5 separate regions of the Homo sapiens genome follow, and all the other regions are linked to region 3. The links are contacts of gene promoters, found by promoter capture Hi-C in blood cells and fetal thymus (Javierre and others, 2016). All regions are on one chromosome and are shown on one strand. Each heading gives the region's core, a stretch centred on a gene start or on the middle of the fragment in contact. The rest is flanking DNA. Distances are from core to core; before and after follow the strand shown. Region 1 overlaps ZBTB16 (zinc finger and BTB domain containing 16). Region 2 has its middle 21 kb from the start of NNMT. Region 3 holds the start of ZBTB16 (zinc finger and BTB domain containing 16). Region 4 holds the start of USP28 (ubiquitin specific peptidase 28). Region 5 overlaps ZBTB16 (zinc finger and BTB domain containing 16).

What was found. Contacts are between HindIII fragments. The CHiCAGO score rates a contact against its expected background, and 5 or more counts as called.
Region 1: a fragment that was not itself captured here is called in contact with the fragment with the promoter of ZBTB16 in region 3 in 5 of 17 cell types (monocytes, activated CD4 T cells, erythroblasts and 2 more); the score reaches 7.1 in monocytes.
Region 2: a fragment that was not itself captured here is called in contact with the fragment with the promoter of ZBTB16 in region 3 in 1 of 17 cell types (total CD4 T cells); the score reaches 5.5 in total CD4 T cells.
Region 4: the fragment with the promoter of USP28 here is called in contact with the fragment with the promoter of ZBTB16 in region 3 in 3 of 17 cell types (total B cells, erythroblasts and naive CD8 T cells); the score reaches 10.8 in total B cells.
Region 5: a fragment that was not itself captured here is called in contact with the fragment with the promoter of ZBTB16 in region 3 in 6 of 17 cell types (megakaryocytes, total B cells, erythroblasts and 3 more); the score reaches 13.7 in megakaryocytes.

The regions. Positions count from the first base shown.
Region 1 is chr11:114,229,027-114,231,954 of GRCh38, forward strand. All of the region lies in intron 4 of ZBTB16 (zinc finger and BTB domain containing 16), which reads left to right. Among named protein-coding and RNA genes, the nearest start is that of NNMT, 66 kb to the right of the region's middle. The HindIII fragment of the contact is 9,057 bases long and covers 1-2,928 here.
Region 2 is chr11:114,274,038-114,276,814 of GRCh38, forward strand. It overlaps a transcript of NNMT not described here. Among named protein-coding and RNA genes, the nearest start is that of NNMT, 21 kb to the right of the region's middle. The HindIII fragment of the contact is 1,048 bases long and covers 838-1,885 here.
Region 3 is chr11:114,058,290-114,060,989 of GRCh38, forward strand. It overlaps ZBTB16 (zinc finger and BTB domain containing 16), which reads left to right and starts at 1,422. Exons shown (of 7, transcript NM_006006.6): 1 at 1,422-1,593. RefSeq lists a silencer at 978-1,272. The HindIII fragment of the contact is 2,602 bases long and covers 449-2,700 here.
Region 4 is chr11:113,873,980-113,876,890 of GRCh38, forward strand. USP28 (ubiquitin specific peptidase 28) reads right to left here and starts at 1,593. Exons shown (of 26, transcript NM_001346252.4): 1 at 1,466-1,593. The coding sequence starts at 1,522. RefSeq lists silencers at 1,292-1,651, 1,672-1,831 and enhancers at 1,568-1,862, 1,852-2,101, 2,152-2,813. The HindIII fragment of the contact is 13,869 bases long and covers 1-2,911 here.
Region 5 is chr11:114,210,003-114,213,024 of GRCh38, forward strand. All of the region lies in intron 4 of ZBTB16 (zinc finger and BTB domain containing 16), which reads left to right. Among named protein-coding and RNA genes, the nearest start is that of NNMT, 85 kb to the right of the region's middle. RefSeq lists enhancers at 2,514-3,014, 3,015-3,022. The HindIII fragment of the contact is 3,018 bases long and covers 8-3,022 here.

The DNA.
Region 1 (2,928 bases), core at 330-2,829, 170 kb after region 3:
TTCAGTAACACCCACACACACACTCACACAGAAAACTGTGGAAGTGAAGTCAAACGTCTCAAAGTCAGATCCCTTTTTGGTATGAATTTGCTGTGTCTCATTCTGGGCACTAATTCCAATTTAATTGCGAGTGGCCTGAAGCCTCTTCAATAGGAGTAACAAATGGTTTGATTTTGTAAACTTCATCAGACTGCATTTTAAATGCGACACAGTAGCCCAACTCGAATGCCAATGAAGCACTGGAGTAGCTCTCTGTTTACTAATTATCCGTTTTTACTCCAAGCCACGCTGGCTGGCTTGTCTGATTAAATCGGATTTGTGGGATAGAGAACAGCTAGCAGAGTTTTCTCTATAGTAAACGAGATTGAAACTATGGGCCGCCTGGCTGCACACTGTAAATTATATTTCCTTTTAAAGGGGACGTGTCTCTTTTATTTCTCTGTCATCCCTCCTGCATATTAAACTTTACGGTACAGAAGTATACCCGGCTGCTTCTAAATCCAGCCTCTCACCCTCTACCTGGTAGCCCACTCTCACTTTCTGTGATTTCTGTCTCCTTCTCTGAAGGACTGGAAAGGAAATTCGTAGCTACGTTCTCTGCTCCTTTATCTTTTTAACCCTTTTCTTTTCTTCCTCTTTATTCTGGAATTGGCTTTTCATTATTCCATTATTTTCAAAGATACCTGTGATGACATGGATGCTTAGAAACTATATTGAGTTAGCTAAAAGAGAGTTCTGGCAACAGAATTTACCAGGACCTAACACAGACTGGGTTTTAGCTTTTTAGAAGGATGTGAAGATGGGTGGTATTGGGCCGGGGCAGGCAGGGGTTGGGCATGAATTGGTAATGATAGTTTGAATTGTGAAAAAAGAGTCAATTTCTGAAAAATCAAATGTGTTCCTTTGGTTCACCTGGAATGATGAAATCCCTTCCTCTGAACGCAGTGAAATCAGAATCACCTGATTTCTACCTGTGGCCCAGCGGAGAAGGCCGTGGGGCAGGTGTTGGAAGGGTGAACGTTGGTGGTCCCGCCCTCTCGGTTGAAGCCCAGGTTGGGGCAGTGGGTGTGTCCTCTTTCTACTCCCTGGCTGGTTCTGGGTCTGACGTAGAGCTCCTGGGCTCGATTTATTGTTTATTCCTCTGACCCTAGGAAGGCAAAACAACCTCTGTCCTTGGTCCTTCCTGTAATGTGCACGTGCATGTGCAACACACACATGCACACACATGCAGGTACATGAAACAAACGCAAGGAGCCCTGAATCAGGTGTAATCAGGCTGTGCGTACATTCTGCCGTTGCTAAGACCAACTCCATGAGCTCGACCTGCCCTGCCCTCATTCTTGGTATCTATGTATGCTCTGGGAGCTTTTTTATATTTTAATTTGCTTCTGAATGTCCTGCAGAATTAACAGTATCTGTCTGCACTTTTCCCTTTTTGGCTATTGTGTGCCGTACAGTACGGGAAGGCCGCATGGTGTCTCTGATATTGATAGCCTGGTTACCGTGGGAATGAATGGCCACCACACTCTCAGGCCCACAGCCCTCCTTTTAATTGTTGACAGTAAAAAGCATTTAAATGCTGCTTAATTTGTAATCATCTTCTGTGGGGGGGGGGCGGGAAGGAGAGGAGCCATTAAAATGTCAGTAAAATGAATACATCCTCTCCTTTTTTGTTATTTTGTTTTGCTTATTTATATGGGGTAGTTTTTCTTTTCATTGCCCAGTGTTTGGGAGATATTTAAATGGCGCTGAAACAATCAGTATTTCGTTTTATTTTGAATTTCTGTCTCGCCCAACCCCTGCTCCCCTCCCCACTCCATTCTGTCTCCCTGGGCCTTTGTCTTGCCTCTGTCTCTCTCTCTTTTCTGTCTGGGTCTCCTCCTGCCTCCTGCCTCTGCCTCCACCTCCCTATCTCTGGAATACATTGGGGTTTACTGGAAATTTTACATGAGAGCCTAGCTGAGGTTTTTGGGTTTTTTTCCCCCAGAGAACCTACTCCTGGGCTGCAGTTTCTCTGCAGGGGCCTCAGGATGACTTTGGGAATGTCTGAAACTAGAGAGAGTGACCATCTATAGAAAGCATCTTTTACATGTGAAGTATACTGGAGATGAAAGAGTCCTGGGGATAACTTATTGTTCAGACAAGGAAATTGGGTCTTACCTTCACGTGGAAACTCCGTGCCTCCCGTGAAGCTCTGGACACACAGCCAGAATGTAAATGCCTACTATGTGTTGGACACTGTGCTCTTGTAATGAAACTGCTAGATTCAGAGGGTCTGGTTCTCTGACTTGCTCTCTATATGGGCTTTCTTGGGGGTCTTCTCTATCATTCTGCTGCTGGGGGCTTGGGAGAGAAAGCTCCCCCTCCATATTCCCCACCCCAACTGCTCAGCCCTCACCTGGCACAGAGAGGCTTCAGGTACTCTCAGACCCAGCTACTCAATAATTGCCTCTGTGAGTGTTCAGCCAGTTCTAGGAGGTCTTAAGCTGCTAACTGGTAGTCCCCTAGAAAAGGGACCTAGAGGTTCTCTCAAGTCCTGTGAAATTTTCCCATCTTCCTAAAAATCCCCATCTCACAGTGCTGCTTGAGAAAGGTTGAACCTAGATTGGCACCCAGCAGGTGCCCAGTCAATGTTGGATCCTTTCTTTGCCTTGTCTGTGACTGTCCCTCTGTCAGCCTAAGAATGTGGTTCCTTTTAGTTAAAGAGATTCTCTTTAGCTAAAAGAAGGCTGTGAAGTCTGACTTTGAAAGAGAAAATGCTGACGTCCATCTCAGTGGGAGAAAGGACCATTCAACCTGCCAGCACCCTCTTCAATAGAATTGTTGAATATTAGAGTGGAGAAAAACCCTTTAAGGATCACTTATATCCCTCTTCATTTTACTGTTGAGGAAACTGAGGCCCAGAAAGGTCTAGTAACCCACCCAGGA
Region 2 (2,777 bases), core at 112-2,611, 220 kb after region 3:
CTTCCTGCTCCTAACACTCCCCTCCTACCCCTGCTCAGTGCTGGGGACTGTGCTCAGTCATGTCTAAGGCTGTTAGTGCAGATAAAATTCCAAATCTTAGAGTCTGCATTCCCAAGTGGTTGACTCTCTACACCCCAAACAAACGTGTCTCTCTAAGAAGTCTAGAGAAAGTAGAACCTTTTGGGAAAGGTGGACCTCAGAGCCATGCTTCGATACTGACGATTTAGAAATATTCTTGTTCTAAAACAGGTGGGCTGATAGGAAAGTGACTAATTGGCATTGGCCCTGAGGCCACCATTATCAGCTCCTCTCTGCCTGTGAGTCTTTCTAGGAGACCATTGCCTCCAACTACATGGACAAGAATGTCCTGGAGCTGAACAGGTAGCAGAGACAGAGGCTGCAGTCATTTGACTGGTCTCCAGTGGTAAAATATGTATGTGAGCTTGAAGGGATTAGGCAAGGAGTTCGGTGTTTGTTTTTGCACCTTGAGGATGCCAGAGCTTCACGTGGCTCTCTGAACTAAGAATTTTCTGTGGGGCTCATGTAGAAATGGCAAGAAAGATGGAGACTAAGAAAGAAGGATGTCAGTGGAACTGCAGGAAGAAGAAAGGAAGAGTGAGTTCTATAAAGCCCCAAGGAGGGAACCAAAGTAGATGGCTAGAGACAAGCCTGGAGCCAGAAAGAAACTGTCCCAGATGCCAAGATCTGAGCCCAAGCATATGCATAACAGGCAGGATGACAGTCAGCTGGCTTTTGATGGCAGGCAACCGTTCTGACTGGTCAGTGTTCCTGTTGTTCCAATTGCAACCTCCAGACTTTTGACCCTAAACCTGTGGAAGCTTTCTGTGGGTCTCCTGAGGTGACCTCTCACTGCTGGGAACAGGGAAACACAGAGAAGGCCATCGCTGGGATTGGAGTTGGGAATGGAATTAAGACCAATCTAACTTTGAGGCAGAATAGAATTTACTTACCTTGCGTAATTTCAGGCACCAGGAAAGTTCTCCATAGCATCTTCACTCCCAAAATACCCCACATCCTAGTTAAGTAAGAAGGTTGAAGTTGTTCATTAGGTCCTTCTTCATTTTGCTTAAGACAATAACATTTGTAATACACTATTGAAGAGCTGTAAAGAGTAACCCTTTAAGTGCTAGTCCTTATTCATACCTCAGTATGAATGAGCCTCATAGCCTATACTAGGTATTTAAGAAGAGAATGTGACAACTGAGTGGAGTGTGTAGCCAGGAGCCACTGGAAGGGAAAGATGATGGAGGTACTGGATGTCCTCAACAACATCTACCAAGCTCACTTTGTATTAATAGTTTTGCTCTGCTGGTTCCAGGCAGACTTTCCATTTCCCTTTGCACTTGGCTGACTTGTTTTAAGTCATGGACCAGGCAGAGAAAGAATGGGCTGATTGTCAGAAGCACATTGCAGAGACAGCCGGCAAGTGGAAAGAGCACTGACTGCAGGGTTGGCGGTCCCTAGGCTTGCCCGTGCCAATAGCTGATGTCATGACTGCATCTCCAGGACTCAGTGTCTTCATCTGTAAAAGGAGTGACCTGATTCTGATATTCTGAGATTCTGTGAGTGTGTGTATGGCTTGGGGTTAGGGTTATGGTTAGGTTTTGTGTTAGAATATTCTGATATCTTGCGAGTGTGTGTATGGGTTTAGGGTTAGGGTTAGAATATTCTGATATCTTGTGAGTGTATAGGGGTTATGGTTATGGTTAGGGTTAGGATTTGAATATTCTGATATCCTGTGAGTTGTGTATATGTTAGGGGTAGGGTTACAGTTAAGATTAGGGTTAGAATATTCTGTTATCCTGCAAGTGTGTGTATGAGATGCAGAAAATGACCAGGAGTGATCTATATGTCCCATGAGGTAAGCTTGACCCAGCTGGCCACTCTTTCCATTTCCTTCTTTCCAGAGAGAAGTGGGCTGAAAAGGAGGAGTGTTTAAGGAAAGCGACTCAAATGTGCTTACATGTGACATTTGGAAAGAATGGCCTCTGAAACCTGCAGTCCTGCCCCTGGCCGACTGCCTCGTTTTCTCCCTGTGGTTTCAGGCTGCCCCCCCACCCACCCTGGGTACCTGCCAAGGCACCTTGTGCCAACTTGGGACCCTGCTTCAACCCAGGGACCGTATGCTGCAAGCAGAGGCTTTGAGACCAGTGTCTACATGGTGGGGGACAAGAGGTTCTCCACACTGCCCCTAGAGAGGAATTTCTGCAGGAGCCCCTGCAGGAGACAGGCTTGGATTTGGAGAAGTTGGAGAAGGCTCAGCAGGCAGCTGAGAGCCACTTCCACGACTGCCCAGTTGACCCAGAGATGTTCTCTGTGGCCCGGCGAAGGGACTGATGCAGCAGACTTGGTAGGAGCTAGGAGTGCACAGGGGCAGGATTTCCAGATGCCATCCTGCTACCTCATTTGCTTTCCTCTTCGTTTAGTCTGTTTTATTTAGAAACCTTACCAGCAAATGCTTTTAGAGTCTTATTATACATGATTGCCAGGTAAATAGGAATGTTGATCTCAAACAGAGAGGTTTATAATATGCTCCACTCATGGCCCAGGGAGGGAGAGAAAGAATTAGACCAGAGAAATAAAGCTGTGCTTCTTCTTGTTTCAAGGGCTCTGCAGGGTTGCATAGAGAGAAGAGGGGAGAGCCCCCCATGATCTCCTAGTTTAGGCCATTTGTCACCACACAACTTCTGAGCCCATTCAGCACCTCCATCCTCACCCCTGCGAATACTGCAGCCCTACCCCATGAAATGAGAAGA
Region 3 (2,700 bases), core at 172-2,671:
TTCCATGACCCTACAGTTCATGGGACTGGGTCTGGGGCAGTGCCAGAGGCACGCATGGAGGTGTGATTCTAGGTGAGTCCTGCGGAAAACCTCTGGCCCACCCGTGAGTCACGGACAGAACATGCAGACTCAGGCCTTGGTGACATAAGCTCCGCATTGCTAAAACCGCGTGACCTCGAGGGCTGACTGGCCTGAGAACCCTGGATGGCGCTCTCGGCCACCCCCACCTCCCACCCCAACCTCCTGGGCTTCGGTCAGAATCCACAGCCCGTGCCCGAAGAGCGCTTCCCGCCTCTGGCACCCTACCTTCGCTCAGCTCCAGGGAAAAGGGGAGAGGGCAGCTTTCTGCAGTCAGAGGAAGAGTACATTTTCTTTGGCTGCTCTACCCTCTGAAGTAGGGCGGCCAGCTGAAGGAGGACACACTTTTGAGGGGCCCAGAGGTTGTCCAAGCTTCCCCCTGCCCCCTGAAGACTGTGCACTGAGCTGGGCGCAGTTCTCGGGAACTGTTTCCACCCAGATTGCTGGGGGGCGGGGGGGTAGGATGAGGGCAGAGCCGAGAGGCTGTCCAAGGTTTGGGAGAGAGAAAAGTTTCTCCCAGGACTCGACCTTGGCCTCCAGCAATCGCGACAGCTAAAAACGGGTGTCTCGCTTCGACAATAGATCCCCGCGGACCTTCTGGCACCTGGTTCACTAGCGCCCGCGAACTCTGCCTCGGGAGACTTATTGAAATCCGGATGCTCAAGCCGGGAGGCGCGCAGTAACCAGGAGGATGAGAGGGCCGGGTTTGGGCTAGGAAAGCGGCCTTTTAAAACAGATGTCAGGGGGACTGCAGCCCCGAGCCATGAGAAAAAAGTTAAAGGCGAGATGACACGCACTGAATTGGGGCAAACATTGGAAGAGGAGACAAAACTGCGTGCTTGAGCACCGGGGTGCGGGGAGGGGGGGACAAAACCCGTATCCAGTGCAAATTAAAATCTTGGGAGTAGGTGGGGGCTGCTGCGCGCCCTTCACCCTCAGTTCCCCTATTAAGGATTCTGAGTCCCCATGCACTCCTGTCCTCTGGCTCCTTCCTTCCTCTCCGCTCGGCCGGTGAGAGGCGGCCGCCGGCGCCCCAGCAGCAGCTAGATGTCAGGCGAAGCCCGGAGCGCGGAGCGCGGGGAAGGGAGGGGAAGGGAGGGGAGGGGAAAGGAGGGGTGGGGCGGGGAGCGCGCGCGGGCTCGGCCAGTGCGGGGTGGTGGGCGGGCTGAGCCCGGGGACGGCGCGGGAGGGGGGAGGGAAGGGGGGCAGCTGTGGGCAGGGAGCCGGGCTCGGCCGCCAGCACTAAAGATGGAGAGGCGCCGGGGCCTTGCAGGGGAGGGGGCTCGGCGTTGACGTGGGACGCGGCGGAGGCGCAGCAGCCGGTGGTGATTTGCTAACCTCGCAGCAGAGAGGAGTTGAGGGCGATGAGAGCGGGTACTGCGAACTGCCGGGCGATGCTGTCGCTGCCGCCGTGATACGGAGAGCAACAGTTCCCCAGCAACACCCCTCCCCGACACAGGCACACACCCCCCGACAGGCACGCACACCCACCCCACAGTGCCCGGCTCGGCTGCGGTGAGTGAGGGGCCGGGAAGAGGCGCACCGCCCAGCGAGCGCCGCGCGCCGGGGCTTCCCGGGGCTGGAGAGGTCTGGGGGGCGCGCGCTCGCTTCGGCCACTCGGCCGCTGGGCTTGTGCCTTTTTTATTTGGCGTGTTCCCTTCCTGCCGCTGCAGCCGTCGCCGCCACCGGTTGGGGGTCGGCTAGAAGGGGGAGCCCCGGCTGTCAGCCTGGGCGCAGCTGCCTCCCCAGCCCTTCCTCTTCAGGGCACGGTCGGGGTGAGAGGTGGGGGGCGTAGCGGTGTGCGGGGGCTGAGGGCGTGAGCAGAGGGGTCGGGGATCCGGAGGCTTTGTACCGCCAGGGGCTGGCGGAGCAACAGAGCCCGTGGGTGCTCTTATGTATGCGGACCGGTGCGCGGGCGCAAGATAAGGTTGTGGTTTATTTATTTGTGTGTTTATTCGCCGGCCGGCTGGGAAGCTAGAATCGGAGGAGCTGACGAGTAGATCTGGGGGCGGAGGGGAGCAGGACTGGGACTGCTTACGTTTTGTTTCTCTTTGAGAAAACGTGGTGGGCTTTTTCTTGATTGGACTTGATCCCCACCCCCCTTTTGCAGGGGAGGGAGGGAAGCTCCAGAGGGTCTGCAGCGCTGCGGGCCCTCCTCGGCTCTCGGCGGGACCGGCGGTGACACCGGAGCTCGCCGTGCGCTCCCGGCCGCTCTCGGTGGGTGCCGGTCTCTGCACCTGATGCGTTCGGGATGCCTTTCCCACCCTGGCGCGCCCGCCGCTAGCTCGCACAGCGCCTCGCACACTCCCGCACGCGCTTGAAATGCGCACGGTCCCGCCGGCCCGCGGAACCACCCGGACGCACGGAGCGCTCCGCACCGACTCGCTCGCCGCCTCCCCGAGACGCTCGCACCGTGCTTGGGCCGGGCGCGCTGGCCGCTGGCGCCGCTGGCCAGAGGCCTGGGACCCAGCCGGTCGCTCCCAGGGGGTCACGGCCCTGGGTCGGAGAGGGAGGGCGGGCAGACCCCTTCTCGCCTTTCCTCCCACAACTCGCTGCGGGGCTTTTGTGCTTCCCCTTCGCCGCGGGGCGGGTCCGCCTCCCCTGCCGCTCTCGCCGCGGAGT
Region 4 (2,911 bases), core at 343-2,842, 180 kb before region 3:
AAAATACAAAAATTAGCTGGGCGTGGTGGCACGCGCCTGTAGTCCCAGCTACTCGGGAGGCTGAGGCAGGAGAATCGCTTGAACCCGGGAGACGGAAGTTGCAGTGAGCCGAGATCGCGCCACTGCACCCCAGCCTGGGCGACAAAGTGAGACTCCGTCTGGAAAAAAAAAAAAAAAAAAAGTGCGTCCAGACTGGGCGCGGTGGCTCACGCCTGTAATCCCAGCACTCTGGAAGGCCGAGGCGGGCGAATCACCTTAAGTCGGGAGTTTGAGACCAGCCTGACCAATATGGTGAAACCCCGACTCTACTAAAAATACAAAAATTAGCCGGGCCGGTGGCAAGCACCTGTAATACCAGCTACTCAGGAGGGTGAGGCGGAGGATGCAGTGAGCCGACATCGCGCCACAGCACTCCAGCCTAGGCAACAGAGGGAGACTCTGTCGAAAAAAAAAAAAAAAAAAAAAAAAAAGTGTCTCCATGCTAAATACTACTGGCCTTCCAGACAAAAGAGTAAAAAGGTATAAAAGGATTCTCACCTGAGGGTATCTGTCTGCCAGCTTTGTACGACAAATATAGTTTCTCATCTCCAAACTCGTATTTGAACAACTGGCACAGATTTCCCGTTTTCTCTTGAAAAAGTGCAGTACTTGAGGGGTGAGGAGGTGGTGTTAAGTTATAACATTCCGAAGTAACACTAGAAGACATGCTCAAATTGCCCTCTTCCCAAGTTTCTTCATACAGACATTAGCTTTTCTCTCAAACCAGGGTTCTTTCACTCTCACCAGATTCTTAGATCAGAAGTCCTTATATTGATTTCAATCTTCTTAGACATTGGGAACAGGAGATCATCATCAGTAGACTTTCTATTCATCACGCAGCTCCTCCCCCTCCTTAAAAATCTAGAGCGATGAAGGCAATAATTGGGGAGGCTGCGCTGTTTTGTTTTTAAAGCCGGGTTGGGAGGGAGGGAAGTGGTGGTAACTGGGACCCCTGGTCTTATAGAAGACGGTGATTAATTCCGGACTTTAAGTGAGATAACTTCGGTCTGCTTTAACCTTTTAAAAACGCCGCCATAAAACTGATTTAAAAGTCAAAGCAAAACAAAACCAACCAACGCTGCCGCTTTCGGAAGTTTCTCACCCCGGACGGGGCCCAGGAGGGCTCACCTTACTGATCCCTGCGGCGGAGAACCCCACGTCCAGCCCTTTATATTTGGTTTTCCAAAATCTGGAAATCCCCCTACAACTTCAGCTCGCCCACGGACGCGAAGATGCAGTCCTCAATCTCCGCGGCCCGAGCCCCGCAGAGCCCTTGGCCTTCTCACCCACGCTGGCGGGCGCACCCCCTGTCCCGCCCGGCCGGGGCGCCCTCCGCAGCCCGCAACCCGCAGCCCTGCAGGCCCCGCACGCTCCCCTCAGGGCCTGGAGCCCGCCCCCAGCTCCCGCTCGCCGCCGCGGAGCCCACCGAGCCGTGGCCGTCTGCCGCGCCGGCCGCGTCGTCCTGCTGCAGCTCCGCAGTCATGGCCGAGGCGCCCAGCCGCGGGTCACCGGTCTCCCGCCGCAGCCGCCGCCGGCCCAGCCTCTCAGGACTAGGCCCCGCCCCCGCCCTCCACCCCGCTCCGTCCCGCCCCCGCCCGCAGCGCGCGCCGGAGGCTTGGCCCACATGCCCCGCCCCCGGCATGCGCGCGCACGCAAGGCGCGCGGCCCGGGGCCGAACAGTTCTGCGTGCTCCCGCGCACGCCCGGCTGACCAGACGTCGGTCACGTGATCCCGGCCCCGCCTGTCGCTGTTGGTCAGCTTCACAGCCGGTGGAGGCTGCGGGCCGCGCTGCCAGTGTCCGGGAACTGGGTTTGCGAATCCTGGGAGCCGCGTTCCTGAGTCTTCTCCGCTCTCTGCCCTCAAAACCTCATTTGTAGGACTGACCTCCGGCTCCACCCTCCCCACGGGCGAGTTAAAACTGTTCCCCCGCCGTGGGAAACTGCCGAATGACCGTGGAATAAAGGATTTCCCATCAGGCTTTGTAGCCATTTCCAACTCCAATGACATGAAGAAGTGTTCACCATCTTTAAGGAGAGAAGGAGGATGAATGCAGTCGCTTGTCTAAAGCTAACCAAACGGACCAAAGCCTCCGTTCATGGGTGTCCCGCTTGGTGCCCTTAACCCTGATGCTCTTAACCTGGGCATGATAAGGAAAATTGCAGTTTTTCCATTTTCGATTTTCAGAAGTTCAAACTAAAATTTTGTGTTACTTTGTTACGTTTGAGCCAGATATTTACGATTTCATGTTAAAAGACCAGGTGCTCCTATTGAATTGTTTTTTGTTTGGTTGGTTTCGGTTTGTTTTTTTTTTTTTCTTTTTTTTTGAGACGGAGTCTCACTCTGTCCCCTCAAGCTGGAGTGCAGCCGCACGGTCTCGGCTCACTGCAACTTCCGCCTCCTGGGTTCAAGCGATTCTCCTGAGTAGCTGGGATTACAGGCACGCTGTACCACACCCAGGGTTTCACCATGTTGCCCAGGCTGGCCTCGAATTCCTGACCTCAGGTGATCCGCCCGTCTCGGCCTTCCATAATGCTGGGATTATAGGCGTGAGCCACCGCGCCAGGCCTGAATTGTATTTTCAACAACTGTGTGGGAATTGTGATTACTGAACCATGTTTCACATTTAAGATACAAATGTGTTATGATGGCAAACCCACTTGACAGGCTGCTGGGTGTCCCAAATCTGCGTAGAGGCTGAGTGTGGAAGCGCGTCTTTTAAGAGTAGCACCTACACCCTTGCCCTGGTCTGGTCTGACTCTCAAGCTACACTTTTAAGTGTGAATTTAACATGGACGGTGGCCTTTCCTATACTCCTGGCATTGTTGTCGCTGGGATTGTTATGTTTCACCTGCAGGCCTCCCTAGTCTGCATG
Region 5 (3,022 bases), core at 267-2,766, 150 kb after region 3:
TTTCAGAAGCTTGGTTTCCTCATTGGTAGAAGAGGGTCAAAAAGCCACTTGCCCGGTGAGCCTGCTGAGAAGAGCAGATGAAGGAGGTGTACTCTGCACTCTGTGAAACATTGCAAATGTGCGGGTTGATCATTAATGTTTTCTCTTACAGCCAAAGCTAGTGTGTGTGTGTGTGTGTGTGTGTGTGTGTGCGTGCGCGCGCGTGCACAGTTTGTGAGTGTCGGGTTCCCAAGCATTTACTCTCCTCTCTCCTTTCTAGGACATTTCAGGAAGCATTATTCAAAAGCCGGTGGGGTGGGACAGAGGGACTATTAAAATTTTTAAGAATCACCTTGCATTTCTTTCACTTTGGTCTTAATAATAAATAACTCTAACCCTGCAGCCAGGAGCTGGGATGTTCTGTCCAAATTAGCACAAATCTCTGTCTGCAACAGCCGAGCATCCCCGTTCAGTGGGCGGGATCAGTACCATTTCCCCAGCAATGAGAAAAAGCCCTCTTGCTAAGCTACAGAAAAATCTCCCTTGTGCTTTAATTTTGGAAGAAGCGGATTAGTGTGGCCATATTTAACCTTTGACCCTGAAACAAAAGCATTATCAAAATTATTTACCAAGAGCGTCTGTCTTCTTCTCCTCACCCCCACTTCCCTGTTTGCCGGGGCTAGTTTAGAATCTTGGTAAACTTCCCAGAGCAAGAGCAAAATTTTGGAAGGCCATCATTACCTTAGAGACATCCCAGGCCTGGTGTTCACTGCCAGGGCTCTTGGGGTCTAAGGTGGGTTAAAGGACAGAGATGAGAATCTTATACCACAGTGGGGTTCAAAATTTGTGAGTTGGATGTAAAAACTCTTTCTCCTCTGAAACTAGCCTAGTTTCTGGCTGTCTTGGAGATTTAACTATTCAGATGATATGTTGATTTTTTTTTTGTTTTGTTTTAAAGATGGAGTCTCACTCTGTCGCCAGGCTGGAGTGCAGTGTCTTGATCTCGGCTCACTGCAACCTCCGCCTCCTGGGTTCAAGCGATTCTCCTGCCTCAGCCTCCCGAGTAGCTGGGATTATTACAGGTGTGCACCACCACCCCTAGCTAATTTTTCTATTTTTAGTAGAGACAGTGGTTTCACCATTTTGGCCAGGCTGGTCTCAAACTCCTGACCTCAGTTCATCCACCCTCCTTGGCCTCCCAGAGTGCTGGGATTACAGGCATGAGCCAAGTGAGTGACCTAAAAGTGCAGATTGATTTCTACCTTCTTCTCCTTCCAGGCAGAAATCCATAGACTTGGTGGTGTGGGGTGGAGGTATATCTAGACCTGAGCCATTTCTGTGGGTTTAAATCTCATCTTCCCTGTCATTAACTGTCACTGTGGCCTTGGACAAATTATTTGAACTCTGAGCCCCCCACCTACCTTCCTTATCTGTAAAATGGGCATAGCAATAATAGTGCCCGCCTCCTAGAGTTATTTTTGAGGATAGATAACAGGATACACATGAAGTGCTTACTGTGGGGTTTGGTGCTTACTAAGTGTTGAGCCAGTGCTAACTACTGTTACCACAGTTGTTACCATTGTCATCAGTATCATCCTTATTGATTCTTCGTCACTTCCCCAGGTCCTGGTTGGCTCCCTTCCCCCTCCCCCGCATTGGGGTGTTATTGGCGACCCGCCCCATTTCCTGCTTGTCCTCTGCCCTCACCTTCTTTGCAGTGATTTTCAGAGTCCCCGTTTGCGTTCGCAGTGGGGAGTTTGACTTCATTTCATACCAGGAAGGCCAGCTTGCAGTGGGGGATTGGGAGGGCAGAGCGCTTTATAAGCTCGCGATGAAAGCTGTAAAACGAGATGGTCAAGGATCTGGCCAGGCCTGGTTCGGGATTATGGCCGGCCCCTGGAATGCTGAGGGGGGCCTCTTTTAAGAAGCCAGTGTCTATTTACAGTGTATCTCTCATAAACCCCAACGCTGGGGCGAGGGCAGGGGGACTCGCCCTCCTGGCATGTGATTGATTATCTGGTATTTATGCCATTGAGGACTTGTCAGCGGTCTGGGGTCAAAGGGTCATCTCATGTGTCTTGCCGCCAGCCCACCTCCTTTTGTACAGTGTGGACCGGGCGAGCTGTGCACAAAACAGCTTTTTCTTTTCCTTGGGAAAGGGGGGATGGGGAGGGGGGAGTGTCAATGAAATTTTTTTTTCAGCCTTTTCTGAATAGTGTTCTTTAAATTCTAAAGAACTTTTAATTAAAAGTCGCAGGAAAATTCATCTTGAGAAGGTTTAACTTACCTTAACAGATACTTTTGTGTCCCAAGAAGCTGGGAGTGACTTTGAAAGAAAGAAAGAAAGAAAGTAAGGGGCTTTGTTGTGCCTCTCCCCCTCCCCCAGGCATTTTCAAAGTTTCCTGGAGTTCTTGTCCACTCCTGTCTGGTGTGGACCCTGCTTGGGAAAGCAGGAAGGGAAGAGGTCATTCTTCTCCTTTAACATAGCCACACAAATTTAGAAAGGGACTTGGGGATTCTCTGCTCCAATTTTCTCCTGTTATAGATGAAGAAACTGAGCCTTGACAGGTGAAAAGACTTCGCTATAGAGTCACACAGCTACACAGTTGCGGAGTCAGGCACTGGGCTCTGATTCTCTGTATTTCCTAGTGCTCCTTTGAGCATGCCAGGTTGCTTCCCGAAGCTGCTTTGGATGCCAAGTGAAGATAAATGTAATGATACCTTTGCTGTCGTTCAGTCCTGGATGTTTGAGACTTGGGAACCACCCTTAAATTCCTTGGGCTGGAAGCATCCCTGAGGGACCACCTGGCTTATCCCCCCATCCCCCATCGCCTGCCTCGGAGCAGGCAGTCCGTGCTCACGTGTGCCGGAGGAATTGCTGTGGGTCCCTTTTCTAAAAATCTGCAGAGGAAGTCTCTATGTTTTCTGCTTGGTAGAAAATGCCGGCACCCCTCCCTCAACCTTCATCACTGGATGGTCTGGACATCCTTCTGAACAGCTGACTTTGTTTCTTCCTTCTGTGGCTCAGGAGTGGCCCACCCAT